Regions from separate parts of the Homo sapiens genome. Here region 1 is linked to region 2. The links are contacts of gene promoters, found by promoter capture Hi-C in blood cells and fetal thymus (Javierre and others, 2016). All regions are on one chromosome and are shown on one strand. Each heading gives the region's core, a stretch centred on a gene start or on the middle of the fragment in contact. The rest is flanking DNA. Distances are from core to core; before and after follow the strand shown.

Region 1 (5,543 bases), core at 28-2,527, 150 kb after region 2:
GCCTGACCAAACATGGCGAAAACCCGTCTCTACTAAAAATACAAAAATTAGCTGGTGTGGTGGCAGGTGCCTGTAATCCCAGCTACTTCGGAGACTGAGGCAGGAAAATCGCTTGAACGCCGGACGCAGAGGTTGCAGTGAGCCGAGATCGCACCACTGCACTCCAGCCTGTGTGACAGAGTGAGACTCCGTCTCAAAAAAAAAAAAAAAGAAAAGAAAAGAAAAAGAAAAAGTATGTCCTTGTCCCTTTGTAATCCATTCCCTCTTCATCCCCCCTCCCCTCTCCTCCACCCCACCCCCATCCCACCCCCAAGCAACCACTGGTCTGCTTCTGTCACTATAGATGAGACTGAGATTTTCAGAATTTCATGTAAGTGGAATCATAACATGTGTTCTTTTTTGGTCTGGCTTCTTTCACTCAGCATAACTATTTTGGGGTTCATCCATTTTCTTAGATGCCATTAATAGTTCATTCCTTTTTATTGCCGAGTAGTATCCAATTGTAGGATATGCAACTGGATATGCAGTTAGCTGATCCGTTCACCTGTTAATGGGCGCTTTTAAAATTTTAGCTCTAAAGCTGCTATGAACCTTCCTGTTCAAGTCTCCATGTGGACATGTGCTCTCATTTCAGTTGGATAAATACCTAAGAGTACAATGGCTGGGCCATGTGGCAGGCATGTGTTCAACTTTTTAAGAAACTGTCAAATTGTCTTTCAGTGGATATCCATTTACATTCCCACCAGCAGTGCGTGAGAATTCCAGTTCCTCCACATCCTCACCAACACTTAGTGTGTTCAGTCTTCTTCATTTTGGCCATTCTGGTATATGTATAGTGGTGTCTCACTGTAACATCTCATTCCCTAGGGAATCTTTTTTTTTTTTTTTTTTTTTTTTTTGAGACAGAGTTTTGTTCTTGTTGCCCTGGCTGGAGTGCAATGGCGCAATCTTGGCTCATTGCAACCTCCGCCTCCTAGGTTCAAGTGATTCTCCTGCCTCAGCCTCCCGAGTAGCTGGGATTATAGGCATGCAGCATTACACCAGGCTAATTTCTGTATTATTATTATTATTATTTTGAGATGGAGTCTCACTCTGTTACCCAGGTTAGAGCGCAGTGGCGTGATCTCAGCTCACTGCAACCTCTGCCTTATGAGTTCAAGTGATTCTCCTGCCTCAGCCTCCCAAGTAGCTGGGATTACAGGCACCTGCCACTGCGCACAGCTAATTTTTGTATTTTTAGTAGAGACAGGGTTTCACCATCTTGGCCAGGCTGGTCTCGAACTCCTGACCTCGTGATCCACCTGCCTCGGCCTTCCAAAGTTCTGGGATTACAGGCGTGAACCACTTCGCCCAGCCAATTTTTGTATTTTTAGTAGAGACAGGGTTTCACCATGTTGGATGGGCTGGTCTCAAACTCCTGACCTTGTGATCCTCCCGCATCGGCCTCCCAAAGTGCTGGGCTTACAGGTGTGAGCCACTGTGCCCGCCCAGAACTCATGGTTTTGAACTTCTTTTCATTTTCGTCATCTGTATATCTTATTTGGTGAAAAGTTTATTCAAATTTTTTGCCCATTAAAAATAAAAAAAGAATGGGTTGTTATTGTTTACTATAAGAGTTTTTTTAATATTCTAGATCATGTATTTTCTTCTTCTTCTTCTTTTTTTTTTTGACAAGGTCTCATTCTGTTGCCCGGGCTGGAGTGCAGTGGCTCATTGCAGCCTCGACCTCCAGGGCTCGGGTGAACTTCCCACCACAGCCTTCTGGGTAGCTGGGACCACAGGCATGCACCACCACACCCGGCTAGTTTTTTTACTTTTTTGTAGATAACAGAGTTTCACCATATTGTCCAGATTGGTCTCAAACTCCTGAGCTCAAGTGATTTGCCTGCCTCTGCCTCTGAAAGCGCTGGGATTACAACAGGCGTGTACCACTGTGTCTGGCCTGATCATGCATTTTCAATGAAGGCAAAATTGCCCCCAATGGGAAAAAATTGGTTCTCGTGAAATGAAAAAATTGTGCTCTTTATGTACAAAGCACAATAAACGCACAATACATAAACGGGTACCTGTGTATTAAATTTCCATGGGGGTGATTAGGAAGGATTGTCTAAAAATATTCCTTGGATGAGGAAGGGAATGGAAAAAAGCTGAGAAAGTGTTCGAGATACAAGTCCTTTGTTGGATGTATGCTTTGCAAAAACCAAAAAATTTTAATTTGGATAAAGTCCAATTTATCAATTATCCCTTTTATAATTTGTGCTTTTTGTGTGCTATTTCAGAAGCCTCTGTCTAACTCAAGGTTACTAAGATTTTCTGCTGTTTTCCTGTAAAAGTTTCACAGTTTTAACTCTTCCATTTAGGTCTGTGGTCCATTTTATAGACTCCCCCAAATTTATTTATTTATTTATTTATTTTGAGATGGAGTCTCGCTCTGTCACCCAGTCTGGAGTGTAGTGGTGTGATCTTGGCTCACTGCAAGCTCTACCTCCTGGGTTCAAGCCATTCTCCTGCCTCAGCCTCCTGAGTAGCTGGGATTACAGGTGAGTGCCACCACACCCGGCTAATTTTTGTATGTTTAGTAGAGATGGGGTTTCACCATGTTGGTTAGGCTAGTCTCAAACTCCTGACCTTGTGATCCACCCACCTCAGCCTCCCAAAGTGTTGGGATTACAGGTGTGAGCCACTGCACCCAGCCCCAAATTAATTTTAGTATGTAGTATGAAGTAAGTGTGGAAGTTCATTTTTTTATATATATATGGACGTCCAGTTGATCCAACACTTTTTGTGGAAACACTTTCCTTTCCCCACCGAGTTGCTTCATCACTTTGGTCAAAAATCAGTTAATTTGGTCAGGCACTGTGGCTCACGCCTGTAATCCCAGCACTTTGGGAGGCCAAGGCAGGTGGATCACTTGAGGTCAGGAGTTCAAGACCAGCTTGGCCAACATGGTGAAACCCTGTCTCTACTAAAATTACAAAAATGAGCCAGGTATGGTGTGTGCCTGTAGTCCCAGCTACTCGGGAGGCTGAGGCAGGGGAATCACTTGAACCCAAGAGGTTGCAGTGAGCCGAGATTGCACCATTGGACTCCAGCCTCGGCAAGAGAGCAAGAGACTCTCTCAAAAACAAACAAACAAACAAATTCAGTTAACTACATATGTGTGGGTCCGTTTTGTAATATACTGTGTGAACCAAAGAAAAACCCATTCATGGGCTGCCTGGTCTGGGCCCCGACTATTTTCTAACATTGACCTCCAGCACTCAGACCTCCTTGCTGGCCCCTGGCTAGGCACCTGCTGCCTCAGGCCTCAGCTCCAGCTCTGTCCTGGTCTAGAACTGTCTGCCCTGAGATCATCTCCTGTCAATGCCTCCTCCTCTGAGAGGGAGGCCCCTGCCATGGTGTTGCTCTGGTGATTTGGTTCCAGGAGAGCTTGATGAGATCAGCAGGCGCCGGATTGTACAGGGACTTGCAGGCGGAGACAAGAATTGAGGTTTTATTCTGTGTGAGATGAGAACAGGAATGGCATGATCTGACTTTGGCTTTGGAAACGTGGCCTGGGCTGCTGTGTCGAGGTGGACTGTAGGGGGAGTGCGGAGGCAGGGGTGGCCGCAGGAGGCTCCGGAAGCACGTGGCTCCTGCCGGCCACTCGCTCTGCCTGTAGTCTGTCATCAGAGCAATCCTTGGCCCTGAGAGCAGATGCTGCAATGAGAAGGAAGGTCAGCCCTGGCCAGCCTTGCTCTGGGATCCCAGGGCATGGGATTCAGGAAAAATAGGGGCTTCCCTCCTCCATGTTCACCATGCCACCCCGCCCTCGGTTCCCACACCCTCGTGGGGTGGCTCCAGGCTACTGTCCTGGCCCTTGACCTATTCACTGCCCTCAAGGCTTGGGCTGCATTTGTGGAGCAGAAGAAGGAGCCGGGGTGGAAGCCCTGAGGTTAAGTTCCAGTTCCTCTTCTTACCAGCTGGGTGACCTCCAGCGAGTCACTGGAGCCTGCAGAATCTCATTTGAGAAGTTGGATAAGATCTCTGCCCCCACCGCCCAGGCCCCAGGGGAGCTGTGCAGACTGACTCTCTTCTGAAGAGTCCCTTGGAAATGTTTTGGCGGTGGCAAGAGAAAGAGCTTTGCTTGTTCTTCAGAAAGACTTGCCGGAGTCAGACACTGAGGACTCCAGAGCATCTGGAGGAAGCCCAAGGGCCACCTCCCCTGAGAAGCCTTCCTTCGCCAGCCTGAATAAAATGGACCTCTATACACACACCTGTCTCAGTGGTGGCAGTGGCAGGCCATCTGGAGCGGCTGCTGCTGTCACACCAGCTGCAGCAGGGAGGCACGGCTGGGGCTGCATGTTCCATGGAACTGGCAGGAGCTGGGGACAGGCAGGAGCCTCTCCCATTCTGAGTCGGGGTGGCAGCTCCCTGCATGCCGCTGCAGCTGCCCAAGCCACGGCTGTGGACCCAGGCATCCCTGTGCTCTCGGAGCCTGGGAGCAGGTGGGAACCCCACCCTCCCAGGTGCAGCTGCAGCCGCCCAAACCACAGCTGCAGACCGGGGCCTCCCGCTCCACGGAGCAGGCTGGAGTCCTGCCCCACATCCCACATAGCTGCACCGGCCCTAACTGCCACTGCGGACCCAGGCATCTCTGCACTCTTGGGGGCCCTGGAAGGCCCCCCTGCCCTCACAGGCTTGGAAATGCCTGCTCCCACTGCCTGGCTTCTCCTTGCTGTCGGCACCTGCTCTGATCTTGGGGCAAAATTGGGGCCGAGCCTGGGTTTTGTCACAGCCCAGCCAGGTGTGCACACACTCAGGGCAGTGCTGACATGCCAGCCCCCTGCCGTCTCAGCCCTCTCCAGATTTTGGGCACTGATGAGCATAGGAATGAAGCTGAGGAGGAACTGAGGGCAGCTTGGCAGTGGCCTGCAGACGCCCCTTGGTACCTATAGCCTGGGCGCCATGAATGGCAGCAGGAGGCAGACAGGTTTCTGGGCAGAAGGGGGTGAGTCCCTGGTGAGGCCCACCTTCAGGCCAGGGAGGCCCTGAAGGCTGGGGGCCAGGCTGTCAGTGCCGTGGACTGGAGTGCGAACTTGTGTTGCCTTTTCTGGGCCTGCCCATGGCCGCCCATGGACCAGTCAGCATGAACTTCCCCCTCTCTGAGGCTGACAGAAGCCCCAGGCTCAGCCAGAGCTGAGCAGACGTCGGATGACCAGCTGTAGTGAGGAACTGCCCTCTCCAGGGCCTCCTCTGAGCTATTGTCACTCAATAAAGCTCCTCTTCGTCTTGCTCACCCTCTTGTTTCCGTACCTCATTCTTCCTGAGTGGAGGACAAGAACTTGGGACCCACTGAATAAGGCTAAAAGAGCTATAACACAAACAGTGCTGAGACATGCCCCTTGCTGGCCACGTTGCAGGGGAAGAGAAGGAAGGAAGAGCTGCAGCCCTTTGGGGAGCCCAGACCGGGGAGTCTCCCAAGCCAGGGCTGTGATGCCCTCTTTGGGTCCCTGTGGTTTCTGGCATCTCCAAGCTTCTGAGAGCCACTGTGTTCCCCAGTG
Region 2 (5,165 bases), core at 2,651-5,150:
TTATGTTGCCTGGGCTGGTCTCCTGGCCTCCAACCATCTTTCTGCCTCAGCCTCCTGAGTCACTGGGATTATAGAAGTGAGCCACTGAACCCAGCCCATGAATCTACTTTAAAAACTAATTTTTTCAGTGATTGCAAAAGTAATACAACCCTCCAAAAAAGTAACACAGCCATTAAAGGATTAGTATCCTGAATATACAAAGAGTACCTACAAATCAATTAAAAAAACCCCAAAACCCCAACCCAATAAATGGGCAAAGTGTAGGAACGGCCAGGCAGATCACTATAAAGAAACCTGAGGCTGGGTGTGGTGGCTCACACCTGTAATCCCAACACTTTGGGAGCCCGAGGTGGGCGGATCACCTGAGATCAGGAGTATAAGACCAGCCTGACCAACATGGTGAAACCCTGTCTCTACTAAAAATTCAAAATTAGCCGGGCGTGGTGGCAGGAGCCTGTAGTCCCAGCTACTCGGGAGGCTGAGGCAAAAGAATCGCTTGAACCCAGGAGGCAGAGGTTGCTACGAGCCAAGATCACGCCGCTGCATTCCAGGCTGGGTTACAGAATGAGACTCTGTCTCAAAAAAAAAAAAAAAAAAAACCTGAGTAATCAATACAATTATGAAAGGATGATCACCCATACAAGGTGGGAAACATCCAATGAATCGAAGGCAAAATATTTAAAATGCTAATAATGGCACACATTAGTAAGGATGTGGGGAAACAAGATCTCTCATTTGCGGCCAGGCATGGTGGCTCACGCCTGTAATCCCAGCACTTTGGGAGGCCGAGGTGGGCGGATCACAAGGTCAAGAGATAGAGCTTATCCTGGCCAAGATGGTGAAACCCCGTCTCTACTAAAAATACAAAAATTAGCTGGGCTTGGTGGCACGTGCCTATAGTCACAGCTACTTGGGAGGCTGAGGCAGGAGAATCGCTTGAACCCGGGAGGCAGAGGTTGCAGTGAGCCGAGATCGCTCCACTGAACTCCAGCCTGGTGACAGAGCAAGACTCCATCTCAAAAACAAAACAAAACAAAACAAAAACCTCTCATTTGCTGCTTGTAGGAGTGTAACTTGGTACACTTACAACGAAACAATTTTTCAATATCCCATAAAACTACCTTTGATCCATCAATTCCACTTCTAGTTATCCCTTTCACATGTGCTAGGGACACAATTCTTGGACAGTCATTGCAGCAGTGTCCACAATGACAAAACAACTGAAAAAAAAAAATCTAAACCAGCCATCAGTATGGGAATGGATGAAGAAACTGTAGTTAATTCATATAACAAAATGCCATAAAACAATTAAAATGAATACTCTCTATATGTAAATCACTGATTAATTTCAAAAATACAAGCCTGGATGAAAGAAAAGCATACTGCAAATGGATCTATTCAATAGGATACCATTTACATAAATTTTAAAAACACATAAAAACAATTTTATATTGTTATGAATACATACATAAATAGTACAAGCATAAATAGTGCGTGGGGGCTGGGCCTGGTGGCTCATGCCTGTAATCCCAACACTTTGGGAGGCAGAGGCGGGAAGATCACCTGAGGTCAGGAGTTCGAGACCAGCCTGGCCAACATGGTGAAACCTCGTCTCTACTAAAAATACAAAAATCAGCCCAGCATGGTGGTGTGCACCTGTAATCCCAGCTACTCGGGAAGCTGAGACAGGAGAATTGCTTGAACCCAGGAGGCGGAGGTTGCGGTGAGCTGAGATCGCGCCACAGCTCTCCAGCCTGGAAGACAGAGCAAGACTCCATCTCAAAAGAAAATAGAAAAAAAAGCATGGGAATGATAAACACTTCTGAGGAGAAAGGAGGGGAAAATTAAGAGGTAGGGGGCAGGGCAGTGTTGTTATATATATATATATATATATACACATATATAAAAAACACAATTCTCAAAAAACACTGAAGATATCTGAAGCCAATCTGGCAAAATGTTAACATCTAGTCTGATGGTGGGTACATATGTACCTGTCACATTGTTTTTGTAAGATTGAATTACCTCATAACTAAAAATATTAATAAAAAAGATAAAATGTTTAGAACATACAGAACAGTATAAAGGAGAAAATAAAGTTTACTCATAATTCTATCCCTCCAACATTACCCTGCTAACATTTTGGCATATTTCCTCTCTTCTTCTTCTGAGCATATTTTAAAATATTTTAAAAACATAACAGCCCATTGTATGTACAATTTTGTATCCTGCTTTTTTTTCTATTATAAAAATCTTTATGGTGTTTAAAAACACTGAAATTTCTTTTTTTTTTTTTTTTCAATTTATTTTTTGTAGAGATGGGGTCTCGCTTTGTTGCCCAGGCAAGTCTGGAGCTCCTGGTCTCAAGTGATCCTCTAGTTTTAGCCTCTCAAAGTGTGAAATTTCAACAATTGTTGAAATTGTTGGACACGATAGGGGAAAATAAGTTGTATTTGAAGTGGAATAATAATACCTTGAATAACAGTATTCAAGGTACTTGAATACTATGATTTGAATCATGTCTGTCTCTGAGTCAGCTTGAGGGTGTGAGCCCGGACATATGTGTTGTCTGGTATAAACAGCTGTCCTTCATAGACGGTCTTAAACTTTTGAGCAGAGCAAGTGAGTGTGTGTGTGTGTCTTTCTGTGTTTAAGGCTTTTCCTATCCAGTTTTTTAAGAAAATGAAGGAAAACATACATATACCCTTAAAATCTATTTCTTATAATCCACATTCGAATTCAATAGCTGTTTTTAAGAGAAGAATCAGTGCATTAAGTTAACTGGGCACAAGAAATTGTGAAATTTAAAAGGAAGAAGAGTGTGAAAATGACAACTTTTTATATATGTGAAGAAAGGAGGGCTGGGTACCGTGGCTCATGCCTGTAGTTCCAGCACTTTGGGAGACTGACGTGGGAGGATCACTTGCACGCAGGAGTTCCAGACCAGCCTGGGCAACATAGTGAGACCCTATCTCTATTAAATAAAAAAAATAAAAAATAAAAAAAAAAAGGCGGGGCAGGGGGACGGTGGGGAAGACTGGAGTCTAAAGCCACACAATCCTAAACCAATAGATAAGCATTCAGGAAATGCTCACCAAAGGTTTCATGTCTAGCTTTTTCAGTAGCTTCTTTTATCTTCTGGTCATGAACTTGAACATCCCAGGCTTCAGTGTCTCCCTATAAATGGAAAAACAGAGGAGAAGGGTTAGAGCCAGATCATTTTATTCAGTAATAACAATCCTACTTATTATTATTTTTAATCTCTGCCCCACTGTAAACGAGTTGTAGAAAATCTGGCTCAGGGGAGGAGAACCGTTGGTGACTCCAGGCGAGCTCGAGAGGGAGCATTATTGGCCCTGCAGGAGGCCGTTTGCTGCCTCCTGGCTCAGATGTTTCATCCTAGAACTCATCTCCTTTCCCCCTCCACGCAGCCCCTCGCCCGCATCTGCCGCTCTAACCCCGTCCCGGCCCCTGCCCTTTCACCCCAATTATCCTGTTTCTGGCGTTGAAGACCCGCTTCTGCCTGCACAGCTCCGCGTGCCTCCTCTTTGCCAGGTTGGCGTCCTGCCGCAAGTCCCTGGGCAGCGCCACCGCCATGGTCTGGGAACCCATGGAAAGCCTAAGGGGTTTTTAGAACACGCAGGATCAGGAGAACAGGCGACGAAAATAAGGAAGCTGTAGCGCAGGCAAGGTCGGCTCCTTCGGTCGGGCAGGGGAAAGACAAGCCTTTAGCGCAGTTTTCCGTCGGGCTCCCAGTGACGCCGCAGAGGTACAGACGCTCCCGCTCTCTCGGAAATGTCAACAACTCGTTGCTAAGGAACGGCTCCGCGCTTGCCGCGTCTCGCTCTCTTCTCGCGACACTTGGCGAATCCCTTCCCGCGCTTTTTCCGCGGGCGCTTGATAACGCGGGTGAGGCGTGGAGGGCGGCGCCATGGCCCACCTGGAGCTGCTGCTTGTGGAAAATTTCAAGTCGTGGCGGGGCCGCCAGGTCATTGGCCCCTTCCGGAGGTTCACCTGCATCATCGGCCCCAACGGCTCTGGTAACTGAGCAGCTCAGGGCGCCACCGGAGCGCCTCCGCCGTCCCAGGCGTCCAGGCCACACGTGGCCTGTGGGGTGTGGGCGTCTGCCGCGGGCGCCTGGCCGGCCTTCCCCTTCCAGTCCCGGAGCCTGACCGCGACCGGATCCCGGCCTGGCCCTGGCCCAGCCCCTGCCCATCACCCCACCTCAGCCCCGGTCCTCGCCGTCCACCTCAGGGGTCCCGACCCTTGTCCCTCCGCCCCACCTCGGAGGTCCTGACCCTTCCACTCGGCCCCGCCTCGGGCCCCGCTCTCGCCCTCCACCTCCTGGCTCCCGACCCTCCTCCGACACCCTGAGGGACCCCACCCCACCTCAGCTCCGGCCCTCGCCCTTCATCTCAGGGGCTCCCAACCCTCGCCCCCCACCCTGGGGGTCCTGACGCTTCCTCTCCGCCCCGGTCCCGCCCTGGGCCCTGTTCTCTGCCCTCACTCCTGCTTCGGGGACTGCTCTTGCCCTTGGCCCTGGTCACTCGCGTCCCTTTTCCCTTCTCATCCGAAGTTGAAGTGAGAGGGAGCTGTCGAGGAGGTAATGGGTTCCAAGCAGCCAGAACCACCATTTGGATCCAAGGGAGCTTTGACCCAGGAATGTAGTGATGATGACCCAGTTTACTGAGCTTTTCCTAAGTTCCTGGCGACACCGTCTTTGGTTAGCCATGGCGCATGGCTGCTCTCCCCATTTTATAGTTGGGGAAACTGAGGTCTGGAGAGGCCAGAGGACCTGCGGAGGTCTCTACTAATAATACCAAAATTAGCTGGGTGTGGTGGCACACGCCTGTAATCCCAACTACTCTGGAGGCTGAGGCGGGAGAATCGCTTGAACCTGGGAGGTGGAAGTTGCAGTGAGCCAAGGACACGCCATTGCACTCCAGCCTGGCAACACAGTGCGACTCTCGTCTCAAAAAAAAAAAAAAAAAAAAAAAAAAGGCTGGGCGCGGTGGCTCACACCTGTAATTCCAGCACTTTAGGAGGCCGAGGCGGGTGGATCATGAGATCAGGAGTTCGAGACCAGCCTGACCAACATGGTGAAGCCCTGTCTCTACTAAAAATACAAAAATTAATCGGGTGTGGTGACATGCACCTGTAATCCC

What was found. Contacts are between HindIII fragments. The CHiCAGO score rates a contact against its expected background, and 5 or more counts as called.
Region 1: a contact is called between a fragment that was not itself captured here and the fragment with the promoter of SMC1B in region 2, in 4 of 17 cell types (naive CD4 T cells, naive CD8 T cells, monocytes and 1 more). The highest score is 5.5, in naive CD4 T cells.

Annotation. Positions count from the first base shown.
Region 1 is chr22:45,262,007-45,267,549 of GRCh38, reverse strand. No RefSeq gene overlaps it. Among named protein-coding and RNA genes, the nearest start is that of UPK3A, 20 kb to the left of the region's middle. RefSeq lists enhancers at 3,691-3,880, 3,305-4,140, 4,151-4,200. The HindIII fragment of the contact is 8,481 bases long and covers 1-5,517 here.
Region 2 is chr22:45,412,334-45,417,498 of GRCh38, reverse strand. It overlaps SMC1B (structural maintenance of chromosomes 1B), which reads left to right and starts at 3,900. Exons shown (of 25, transcript NM_148674.5): 1 at 3,900-4,040. The coding sequence starts at 3,932. It overlaps RIBC2 (RIB43A domain with coiled-coils 2), which reads right to left and starts at 3,806. Exons shown (of 7, transcript NM_015653.5): 1 at 3,484-3,806; 2 at 3,096-3,177. The coding sequence starts at 3,612. RefSeq lists an enhancer at 2,984-3,817. The HindIII fragment of the contact is 11,352 bases long and covers 1-5,165 here.